2 separate regions of the Homo sapiens genome follow, and region 2 is linked to region 1. Evidence: promoter capture Hi-C in human tissues and cell types (Jung and others, 2019). All regions are on one chromosome and are shown on one strand. The core of a region is centred on a gene start or on the middle of the fragment in contact, and the rest is flanking DNA. Distances in the headings are between cores, read along the strand shown. Region 1 holds the start of RPUSD3 (RNA pseudouridine synthase D3). Region 2 overlaps LHFPL4 (LHFPL tetraspan subfamily member 4).

Region 1 (6,141 bases), core at 1,843-4,342:
GGCCGTGCAGGCACAGGGCTCTCGTGCACTGGGGTCCCCGGGGACACCTCCCACCCCTGCCCAGGCTCTACTTGGGAGTTGGCAGGTGCTGAGTCCTCTTGTGACCTTCTTAAGAAAGTCCCTCCTGGCCAGGTTCAGTGGCTCATGACAGTAATCCCAGCACTTTAGGAGGCCGAGTCGGGTGGATAACTTGAGGCCAGGAGTTCAAGACCAGCTTGGTCAACATGGTGAACCCCTTTCTCTACTGAAAATACAAAACTTAGCAGGGTGTGGTGGCAGGCGCCTGTAATCTCTGTTACTTGGGAGGCTGCAGCTAGAGAATCGCTTCAACCCAGAAGGCAGAGGTTGTAGCGAGCCGAGATCACGCCATTGTACTCCAGCCTGGGCAACAGAGCAAGACTCTGTCTCAAAAAAAAAAAAAGAAAGTCCCTTCTCTCAGAGCTCAGGGCTGATAACAGAGCAAGAAATGCATCCTCGGGGAGAGAGAGCAGCCTGGCCTGGCCTGGCCTGGGAAGGCTGGCTTCAACCATCAAAGACAGCTCTCACACCTCAGGCCCCAGGGCCTGGGGCTTGATCCCTGCATCCCCTCTTCCGCTGGCTGAGCTCTGTGCCTCAAGAGTGAGACTCCACCCTCCCAGCACTCCCTCACAAGCAGACCGGGCCCCATCCTGCCTCTGCTGACCCCCACTCCCCTGGGGCCTGCTCTCTGGGTCAGGACCCGCATGGAAACCAGGGGCAGGCCATCCCAACACCTCCCAGAGGCTGCCGGCAGCTCAGGCTGGTTTTCCTGTGACCAGTGCAAGTGTTCTTTTCAGTTATCTGACTTCCTTCCGGGGCATTCTGAGCCCACCCATAGCTTTTGGCATGCCTTTAAGGGACACAAAGAACCACAACAGCCACTGTGTCCTCATCTGTAAGGCAGGGCCCCAACCCACCCTGCCTTCCTCATAGGGGTGTGTAATGCTGGATGAAAAAGCCTATTAGAAAGTGTCCGTCAAAGGCCGGGCACGGTGGCTCACACCTGTAATCCCAACACTTTGGGAGGCTGAGGCAGGTGGATCACCTGAGGTCGGGAGTTTGAGACCAGCCTGGTCAACATGGTGAAACCCCATCTCTACTAAAAAATACAAAAAATTAGGCAGGTATGATGGTGCATGCCTGTAGTATCAGCTACTTGGGAGGCTGGGGCAGGAGAATTGCTTGAACCCAGGAGGCAGAGGTTGCAGTGAGCCAAGATCGTGCCACTGAACTCCAGCCCGGGTGACAGAGTGAGACTCCATCTCGAAGGAAAAAAAAAAAGAAGTGTCTGTCAAAGGCCCCGTGCGGCCTTTAATCCCAGCACTCTGGGAGGCCGAAGTAGGTGGGTGAATCCCTTAAACCCAGGAGTTTGATTTTTTAAAAATTATTTTGTTATTTTTATTTTCTTATCTTGAGCCCAGGAGTTTGAGACCAGCCTGGGCAACATCGTGAGACCCCATATCTTTAAAAAAAAAAAAAAAAAAAAAAAAAGCTAGGTATGGTGGTGCACACCTGTAGTCCCAGCTATTCAGGAGACTGAAGTGGGAGGATCGTTTGAGCCTGGGAGGTTGAGGCTGCAGTGAGCTGTGATTGTGCCACTGCACTCCAGCCTGGATGACAGAGCAAGCAAAAAAACACATTAGTGGCCGGGCACAGTGGCTCACGTCTGTAATCCTAGCACTTTGGGAGGCCAAGGCGGGCGGATTGCCTGAGCTCAGGAGTTCGAGACCAGCCTGGGCGACATGGTGAAACCCCGTCACTAAAATACAAAAAATTAGCCGGGTGTGGTGGCGGGCACCGCACCTGTAATTCCAGCTACTCAGGAGGCAAAGGCAGGGGAATCGCTTGAACCCGGGAGGTGGAAGTTGCAGTGAGTCGAGATCGGGCCACTGCACTCTAGCCTGGGTGACAGAGCGAGACTCTGTCTCCAAAAAACAAAAACCAAAACACATTAGGAAAATGTTCACACCAAACTCAAAGTGGAGACTGGGGAGGGAGTGAAAACTGGAAGCACGCAGTAAAGGGGAATTTACTTTTATCCCTTTCATTTCTTAAACAAGAAAAACAGGAAACCTATACATATATATATTGTTTCACAATGACTAATTCTGATGGTAGGAATGTGGGCAGTCATTATATTATTCTTTTTTTTCTGTGTTCTTCTACTTTCTTTTTCTTTTTTCTTTTTTTTTTTTTTTTGAGACGGAGTCTCGCTCGTCGCCCAGGCTGGAGTGCAGTGGCACGATCTCGGCTCACTGCAAACTCCGCCTCCCGGGTTCACGCCATTCTCCTGCCTCAGCCTCCCGAGTAGCTGGGACTACAGGCGCCCGCCACCACGCCCGGCTAATTTTTTTGTATTTTTGGTGGAGACGTGGTTTCACCGTGTTAGCCAGGATGGTCTCGATCTCCTGACTTCGAGGGGCCACAGGACTAGTAGAGCCAAGAGTTGAGGGTCCGGGTGGGGTGATCCGGCCGTCAGAAATGCAAAAGCCTGGAAAGACATCTCCAAAGGCCAATCTCAGGTTGGACAATCGTGAGCTGGGGAAGCTGCAAACACTGTGACCTCCGGAATAACCGCTGGTAATCAGTTACCTCTAACCCTTAGCAGAATTCAGGTCCCTCTACTACTCCTAACCTGGTGGCCTTTCATTAACTCTATGAAGCCAGTTTAGTTCGGGGGAAGGGCAATTATCATTTAGACTACGAACTAATTTCTCCCAAAGTTAGCTTGGCCCAAGCCCAGGAATGACCAAGGACCGTTTAGAGGTTAAAGGCAAGCTGCGGGTTGGTTAGATCAGATCTCTTTCGCTGTCATAATTTTGTAATATAATTTTTGCAAAGGCGGCTTCAGGTTTTTTGCTAAGACAGGTTTTTTGATCAGATCAAATTCTTCTGCTACAGCGCTCTCCCTAAAAGCATAGGAAGGCATTTCTGCATTTCCTTCCTGGGCGGAGGAAAAGCCCCGCCTCCTCAGGCTCTGAGTCCCGCCCGGTCACCATTCCGATTGACACTCCAGCTGACCAATCAGCGCGCTGGCTGGAGCGCGGGTCTGCCCCTCTGGACGCACATGCGCGCTGTCCTGGCTCGGGAGATGGACGGCCGCCGTGTTTTGGGCCGGTTCTGGAGTGGCTGGCGGCGGGGCCTGGGTGTCCGCCCAGTGCCCGAGGACGCAGGCTTTGGCACCGAAGCCCGGTGATTAAGTACCCCCTCTCTCATGCGGGACGGAGGCTAGGGCAGGGGGAAGGCACGTGCGGGATCTGGATCAGGTAGATGTTACCCGAAAACAGCCCCGTTGGCCTCTCTGAGCCTCGGTGCCCTCCGCTGTAGAATGGGACCGGTCGTACCTGAATTTTCGAGGTCAGCCCAGACATTGTGAGGCATTTGTCAGAGGCCGCAGGATTTGGGAAGAGGCGTCCGGAGATAGGAATGGGTGGCACCTCGGGATGGAATGACTCCCATTGCTTCTCCCTCCTTGTCCAGGCATCAGAGGCAACCCCGCGGCTCCTGCCAACGGTCGGGGCCCCTCGGGGACCAGCCCTTCGCGGGGCTGCTGCCAAAAAACCTCAGTCGGGAGGAGCTGGTTGATGCGCTGCGGGCAGCCGTGGTGGACCGGAAAGGTGAGGGGTGAGAGGCACGGCCGCACAAGGACCGGGAGGGGACTGCCTCGGCGTGCAGTTGGGCTCTCCATTGAAGCCACGGGATCAGCCCTGCTTCTGCCTCCCACTAGCAGCATGAGCTGGGACAAGCCACCTAATTTGCACCCTCTCCCCGCTTTTAACCCTACTGCCATGATGCAGTAGGGTTAAGAGTGGGGAGAAGATGCAAATAACTACCGAGCCTTGCACATAGCCGGCGCTCAGTTACGGGAGTTGCTATACTAGATTATTGTTTATTGGCCGCGGTGGCTCACGCCTGTAATCCCGGCACTTTAGGGTGCTGACGCGGGCGGATCACCTGAGGTCAGGAGTTCGAGACTAGCCTGGCCAACATGGTGAAACCCCGTCTCTACTAAAAACACAAAAATTAGCCAGGTGTGGCGGCGTCCGCCTGTAATCCCAGCTACTCGGGAGGCTGAGGCAGGAGAGTCACTTGAACCCGGATAGCAGAGGTTGCAGTGAGCCGACATCGTGCTACTGCGCTCCAGCCTGGGATGACAGAGCAAGACTCAGTCTAAATAAATAAATAAATAAATAATGATTATTTATCGACGGACAAAACACAGGCTTTGGAGTCAGACATACCTAGGCTCTGTGATCAGCTTGCTGTGCGGCTTTAGGAAAATAACTGAATTTCTCTGAACCCCACTCTCTATTCAGTGATTTATTCCTTTTCTCAACTATTTCTTGAACATATGCTATGTTCCAGGCACTGTTCTAGGCAGGCTATACAGTGCTGAAAAAGATAGATATGGTTTCTGCTCTCAGGGGAGAAATGGATTTCTCTCTAACGGGAGAAATGGATGTCAGAAAATAAATGAACAAGTTACTAGTGGTAAGTGCTATGCATAAACTAAAACAGGGTGTTATGATGGTGAGGAACTGCAGGAGGAAGGCAGACATTAGATTGGAGATTCAGACCTCTCCGTGATGTGACATTTGAGCCAAGATGATAGGGAGCCAGACCTGGGAAATTTGGGGACAGGAAACAGCAAGTGCCGAGGCTCTGAGGTGGCAGAGGAACAGAAAGAAGTTGAATTTGGTGTGGGGTAGTTAACTCATGTCTGAGAGTCATGATGGGGACATGTGCTAAGATGCGTGAGAAAGTGCTCTGGAAACTCTTTAGTGCTGCATAAAGGGTTACCGTTGCTTTTGCTGATGTTCGTGTGATGTATGTTTCAGGACCTCTAGTGACGTTGAACAAGCCACAGGGTCTACCAGTGACAGGTATGGGCCGGGGATGTGGGAAGGGAATGCAGCGGAAGGGGGTTTCGTGACTGAGGGAGGGAAAAGTGAAGGCATGAAGCTTTGGCCTCTTGTAATTTTTCTTTCTTACTTTCCAGGAAAACCAGGAGAGCTGACGTTGTTCTCAGTGCTGCCAGAGCTGAGCCAGTCCCTAGGGCTCAGGGAGCAGGAGCTTCAGGTTGTCCGAGCATCTGGGAAGTAAGTGGTAGGGGTGACAGGAAGCTAGGAGTACAGGCATCCATCTGTGGTGGGGAAACAGCTGCTTGGGGATAAGCTGAGACATTTTCCATGGGAAGGTTTGAGATCATAGAGGTGGATACAAGTACTGTGAAGAAGAGGAAGCCGATGGCTCTGGGTTCAAATCCTCAAGTACAAATGGTGTGATACCAGGCAAAGCATGACACCTCCCTGACGCTGGGCACAGTGACTCACACCTGTAATCCCAACACTTCTGGAGGCCAAGGCAAGAGGATCACTTGAGCCCAGGAGTTCGAGACCAGCCTGGGCAAAATAGACCCCATCTCTGGAAAAACAACAACAAAACTTTCCGCGTGGTGGCTCATGCCTATAATCAATAGGACTTTGGGAGGCCGAGGTGGGAGGATTGCTTGAGTCCAGAAGTTCAAGACCAGCCTGGGCAACATGGCAAAACCCTATCTTTACTTAAAAAACAAAATAAAACACACACACACACACACACAAAAACCTAGCTGGGCAGAGCAGCACATGCCTGTAGTGCTCGGGTGGCTGAGATGGGAGAATCACCTGAGCTCAGAAGATGGCAGCTGCAATAAGCTGAGATCCCGCCACTGTACGCAAGCCTAAACAACCTGAATGAGACCCCGTCTCAAAAAAACAAAACAAAACAAATACCCTCCCTGAGCTTCAGTTCCCCTAATGGTAAAATAGAGAAAATAATACCTATGCTCAGTGTGCAGTCATTTCTCCATGACGGTACTCGTGGCAGGCATTGCTAGTCGATCCATGATACTCTTTCCTCTAACTGCCATCAATTAAAGATGGTACTTGAGATGAAATATTTCTGCAGTTCCACAAACTCATGAGCTTTTTTGTAGAGAACTTATTTAAGAGCTAATATGTACAGAATTTCTAGTAGAATTCTGGCACATGGTAGACAATCGTTACGACATTTGGCTCTGAGTTCCCTGGGGGCCGGGGCAAAATGAGAAACACATTAAGCTACATAGTCTTGTTATCAAAG
Region 2 (5,568 bases), core at 1,584-4,083, 340 kb after region 1:
AGGATCGCTTGAGCCCACACGTTCAAGACCAGTCTGGGCGATGTAACAAAACCCAGTTTCTATTAAAAAGAAAGAAATATATATATATATTTAAAGAAGACCTCTGGAACCAAAGAAAAAATAGATAAATAAATTGCTTCCATTTCCAGCATATTCTATGACCAAACACTGCCAAGTCCTTGGCTGTCATTATTTGTCTCTTTTTGACCCTTCGGAATTACCCTGTGAGGTAGGCTATGATCCTTATTTTGCAGATGAGAAAATCGGGGCTCAGAGAGGTTAAATGGCTTGCTCAAGGCCATCCTGCTGGTCAGGTGAGGCTAGGATTTCAGCGCTTGTGCAGTCTGCCCCTCTGCCCCTCTGACCTTTTTTTTTTTTTTGAGATGGAGTTTCACACTTTTTGCCTAGGCTGGAGTGCAGTGGTGCAATTTTGGCTCACTGCAATCTCTGCCTCCTGGGTTCAAGCGATTCTCCTGCCTCAGCCTCCCAAGTAGCTGGAATTACAGGCATGCACCACCATGCCCGGCTAATTTTTTGTATTTTTGGTAAAGACAGGGTTGTGCCATGTTGATCAGGCTGGTCTTGAACTCCTGACCTCAAGTGATCCACCCGCCTCAGCCTCCCAAAGTGCTGGGATTACAGGCGTCAGCCACCGCGCCCGGCCCCTCTGCCCACTTGTGCCCTGGGGAATGTGCAAGGAAAGCCTGAATGCCCAGGCAGCCTCTGACTTTCTCTAATTCTCTCTCCTTCTCTCTCTCTCTCTCTCTCTTAGATTTTGTGGGCTCTACAGTAAGCTCCGTGTTGCGGCCCGGGGGTGATGTCTCTGGATGGGGAGTCCTTCCCTGCCCCGTGGCTCACTCACAGGGACCCTGAAAGGCCAGGATCACAGCCCAGTAATTGGCCTGACCTCAGCTTGTCCTGCCTTCTGCCCTCTCGTCACTCCATTCAAGCTCTGAGGGAAGACCCTGATCTCAGACTTACTTCTCACCGACTACCCTGCAAGCTCCAGGCTTTGAGGAGAGGAAAGCCTGGATGTGGCCTGGGGGAGAGGAGAGGCCCTCCAAACCTTGGGAGGGTCTAATTCTTGCTCCTCCCTCAATTTGACCTAAGGGAGCCTGCATCTGCGTAGGCCCTTGGGCTTCTCCTCTCCTCTCTAGACTGGCCTGGAGGTCCCTGCAGATCCCCAGGGAGAGCGGAGCTGTAGTTCCAGCTCCCCAGGCCCCCTCAGTCTGGAGGGCTGCCGCCTGGCTGTATCCGCACCTCTTCTGGTCCCTGCCTCTTCAAGAAATTTATTCTAGATACTGCTCCAGGGTGGGCTGGACTCTTTCCTACTTTTTTTTTTTTTCTTTTTTGGCTGATGTTGGTTCCACCACATCTGCCACAAAGCTCCAGGTGCCACCAGTCTCCCCTGGGACCTCCTCTGCTCCATTCCGGCCTGCTCCCAGCTCACCCTGAGGGAGAGCTGCACCGAGGGATGCACAGGGCCCTGCTGTCAGCTGCAGACCGGGGCCCTGATCAGCCCAGAGTCAGAAAAGACTTTCAGGCTCTGGAGGTAGCGGGAGGGGGTACGTGGCCTCGGCAGTTGGAGCTTAGAAGCTGCTCAGCCCGGGCTGGCCTGGCCTCCTCTTCCTCTCTGCTGGAACATCTCACTGATGACTGAGCCCTTGACCTTGGCCTCTTTTGCCCAGGCCTCCTCTCTGCTGGGATGTCTCACCAATGACTGGACCCTTGACCCTGGCCTGTTTTGTACAGCACAGACTTCTTGGCCCTGTTGTCAGGGTTGGGGGTGTGGAGGGGACCCCAGAGGTGGGGAGTTGGGGGATGCATTACCCCTTCTGCCCCTTTTCATGCCCTCCATACCCCAGGCGTCTACCAAGGGCAGAGACTGTCTTGTCTCTTTGATACTTTTCTGCATAACTTGAACTTGCAGGTCATCTCTGAACAGGGTACCCCTGTCCCCCTTCCTAAGCCTTGTTACCCTGTCCCAGCCTCTTCCTCCTCCTGGCCCACCTCTCGCCTTGCGATATGCCCAGGGTCTGCACCTATGGGCAGTGCTTGGAGCCGAGGCATGAGTGTATGTGTATGTGGGTGAAATGTGTGTGCGTGTGTGTGCGCGTGTGAGCGTGTGTGTGTGTGTGTGTGTTGGGGGACAGGTGAGAAGTTTCTCCCCCCTCCACCCACTGTGGGGGCGTCTCCCTTCCCCTTGGCAGGGAGCAGGTGAGGGAGACTCCTGGTATTTTTTGAACACCCGTCATTCCCCTGTGGGTCTGGCGGCAGAGCCATCTCTCCCGGGGAGCCTCCCTGCCCTGGGGCCTGGACAGCTCCCTCAGCACTAGTTGCTGGTGCAGACCGGCTTCGTCCAGCGCCCCCTCCTGGCGGCCTGGACCTGCAGGGAAGGGGCGGTGCCCTGCAGGATGCCAGGGGAAGCCGCCTCGGGCCTCGGCGGAGGGGAGAGGGTCGCTTGAGCGCCATGTGTTTGCCAACCTTGTGTTCATTTCCACAGGACTTGGACCTGAGAGTTAGGGTTTCCAAGAAAGACCCTAGAAGTCCCCTGCCTGTCTCCCCACTCTGGACCCTAGCCGGAATCAGATGTTGGGACCTAGTGGGTTCCTGCCACCTGGAACTTACCAAGTCCCGACTTCACTCCTCCACTTACTCCTCCCGGGCAAAGCCTCCCCGCAGTGCTCTGGTCCCAGCGCTGGGCTCCCCTTCCCCGCCGGCGCCTTCCCGGACAGTCCAGTCGGCCTGGGGTAGGGGCGCTGCGGGACAGAGGGTCCGAGTTAAATGCGGGAGGATGCGGGAGCCCCGTGGGAGGGAGTTGGGGTAGGAGGGAGTTCCTCAAAGATGCAAACCAAGCCCAGCGTTGGAGGGGGAGAGCAGAGTTAGGAGAGAGTGAGGGGAGGGGCGCAGCAAGCGACTGGGAATGGGAGAAGACACTGGGGTGAGGAGAAGAGGGGTGCAGAGACAGGGAGATGAGAGATGATTGGAGAAGGAGCGAGGGGGACGCACAGGCACAGAGAAACAGCGCGAGGAGGAGAGATCGAGAGAGACGGGGCAGAGGTGGAGAGAGATGAGAGACCAGCTGAGAGGCTGCCCGAGAGCTTGGGGTGGGGGAGGGGAAATGGATGAAAAGGCGGAAAAAGGACTCGGGAGCGGGGAAGAGGTAAATGGAGATGTGGGTTGGGGGCAAGAATGGGATGCAGAGGAAGGAGAGGAGGATGAAGGAGCCAGGATGCGGGGCAGTGGGGAGGGGGTTGCTATCTGGGCACTGGGTGAGGGGAGAGCTTGTTCCCCCAAGGACGCCTGCCACCAGGTGTCCTTGCCACACCTTGTTCCCCAAGGACACCCACCAAACCTGTGCCCTGGTGCGGGGGATAGAACTGACCTTTCAGAGGCTGGAGGCCCGGGGCACAGGCAGCCAAGGCCGCATCCTTTTGGGAAGAACTGGAGTGAAGGAAGCCACTTCAGAGGACGTAGTGGGTCCAGCTGACTTAGGAGTGGGTCAGCGCCGGGTGGAGAGGAGGGAGGCTAGTTCCCTGGTGGGGTAGCCTGGCAACATTCCCATTCCACCGCACCTGGCCAGCTGCCATCTTGGCAGAGCCAGGGGGAGATGCACCAGGGAGTTTGGAGTCAGGAAGGCAGAGTTGTGTGGGCTGAAGTCTGCGGGAACCCCAGGGTGACACAGGCAAGGGGTAGAAGTCAGAGTGGGGACCAAACCATAGACTGGGGCCCTGGGTTCTGCAGAGGTGTGGATGGGGCAGGTGGCAGGTGCTCCAGTGGGGGCCCCAGGTGAGGCCCTGATGGCCCTCCTGGGGCAATAAAGACATCATGGGAAGGGGGCTTTGTGGTTTGCCTCTGCTCTCGTCGGGCGATCTGGCTTTAGCCTTCAGGAGGAGGTAAGCAGAGGAGATCAGTGCCTGTTTCTGACCCCAGGAGGGCCTTGTTGGGCTCCAACCTAGAGCCTTCCGGCTTCAGGTCCCAAGAGAAGTCCCCCCCTAACTGTGACCCCCCTAACTGTGATCAGGGGTCTGCCATTGCCCGCTTTTCTCTGCCTGATCTGGGGACTCAGGAGAGGCCACGGCAGCCACAGCCTAGGGGTGGTTCAGTCCCTGGCCCACAGTCTGGTCAGTTGAGTCCTTCTGGGAACCGGGGCTATGAAAACTTTCGTCTTTGGGGACCGGTACCCATGAAGGAAAACTTTCCTGAGGGGGTGAGGACCAAAGAATCAAGATCCTTTTCAGGCCTGATAGCCAAGATGATGAGAACTTTTAGATAAGGCTGTGGGGAGAGTCCCTGGCCTTTTGAGCATCCTGCTTGGGCACACGGGGAATAACCTTTCTCCAGCTTCCAGTGTGAACTGAGAAAGAGAAAGGGAAACCCTGTCTTTGGAGAAGCTGGGATGTTCCCAGCACCAGAAACTTCTGCAGGCCCCTGCCTGGCCCACGGCTAACCTTTGGGTGGGACTGGAGTTTCCTGAACAGGGAACAAGGGAGCCTTCCGCAGAGCTCTGATGGGCAGGCCTCCGAGGGCCTGTGCTGTGTGCTGTTAGGATAGCTTGGTGTTGTCTATACCCCATTAGTAAGTTTTGTCTGAGTGTGTCCTCGCTGTTCATTGTCTAATTTGGTAACATTTATTTTGGTCCTGACCCCTTCTGCTGCTGCTGGGTTTAAGCTTCAGTGCAGGTGGAATGACATTCAAATAAAGAAACACTTTCTATCACCCACGCTGGCTGCCACTTCTCTGAGTCACTGGGATCAAGAGGGGTAAGATTCCAACCCTATGGATCAGGTTTGTCTGGTATTAACAGAACCCTACTACTGTGGCTTAACAAGATAGTTTATTTTACCATCACATTAAAAAAAAAAAAAAAAAAAAAAAAAGCCTGGAGGTGGGTAGATCACGGCTGATATGGCTCTCAGTGTTATCCAGAACCCAGGCTCCTATCTTTCTGCACTGCCATTTTCAATCCTGGCTACATCCTCAAGAACACCTCATGGCCCAACGTGGGCTGCTGGAGCTCCAGTCACCTGGTCCACATTTCATTTGAAGACTTCTGGAAATTCCATAGGACTGTGTCACTTGGGCCACATAACAGTAAAGGAGGCTGAAAAAGTGTGGTCTGTTATCTCGGCGCATTGCCAGCCCAAATAAAACTGGGGTTCTTGGCCGGGCAAGGTGGCTCATGCCTGTAATCCCAGCATTTTCAGAGGCTGAGGTGGGTGGATCACCTGAGGTCAGGAGTTTGAGACCAGCCTGGTCAACATGGCAAAACCCTGTCTCTACTAAAAATACAAAAATTAGCCAGGCATGGTGGTGCGTGCCTGTAATCCCAGATACTCAGGAGGCTGAGGCAGGAGAATTGCTTGAACCCAGGAGGCGGAGGTCGCAGGGAGGTGGGATGGCGCCATTGCACTCCAGCCTGGGCAACAGAGCAAGACTCCGTCTCAAAAAAAAAAAAAAATAGGGTTCTGATACAAAGGAGAAAGGAGTGAATAGAGAGAGGGATACAGTAATCTCTGCACACCTCTGACAGCACAGGCACGACTTGTCCAAGTCCATACAGGCAGA

The links. Contacts are between HindIII fragments. The study calls those that stand out against the background at their distance.
Region 2: a contact is called between a fragment that was not itself captured here and the fragment with the promoter of RPUSD3 in region 1, in 2 of the 25 tissues and cell types used here (adrenal gland and heart left ventricle).

The regions. Positions count from the first base shown.
Region 1 is chr3:9,840,959-9,847,099 of GRCh38, reverse strand. RPUSD3 (RNA pseudouridine synthase D3) reads left to right here and starts at 3,092. Exons shown (of 9, transcript NM_173659.5): 1 at 3,092-3,210; 2 at 3,499-3,635; 3 at 4,857-4,901; 4 at 5,018-5,117. The coding sequence starts at 3,110. RefSeq lists an enhancer at 3,150-3,229. The HindIII fragment of the contact is 13,991 bases long and covers 1-6,141 here.
Region 2 is chr3:9,497,516-9,503,083 of GRCh38, reverse strand. It overlaps LHFPL4 (LHFPL tetraspan subfamily member 4), which reads left to right. Exons shown (of 4, transcript NM_198560.3): 4 at 773-4,723. The coding sequence ends at 873. Among named protein-coding and RNA genes, the nearest start is that of LHFPL4, 54 kb to the left of the region's middle. RefSeq lists an enhancer at 1,033-1,758. The HindIII fragment of the contact is 7,926 bases long and covers 1-5,568 here.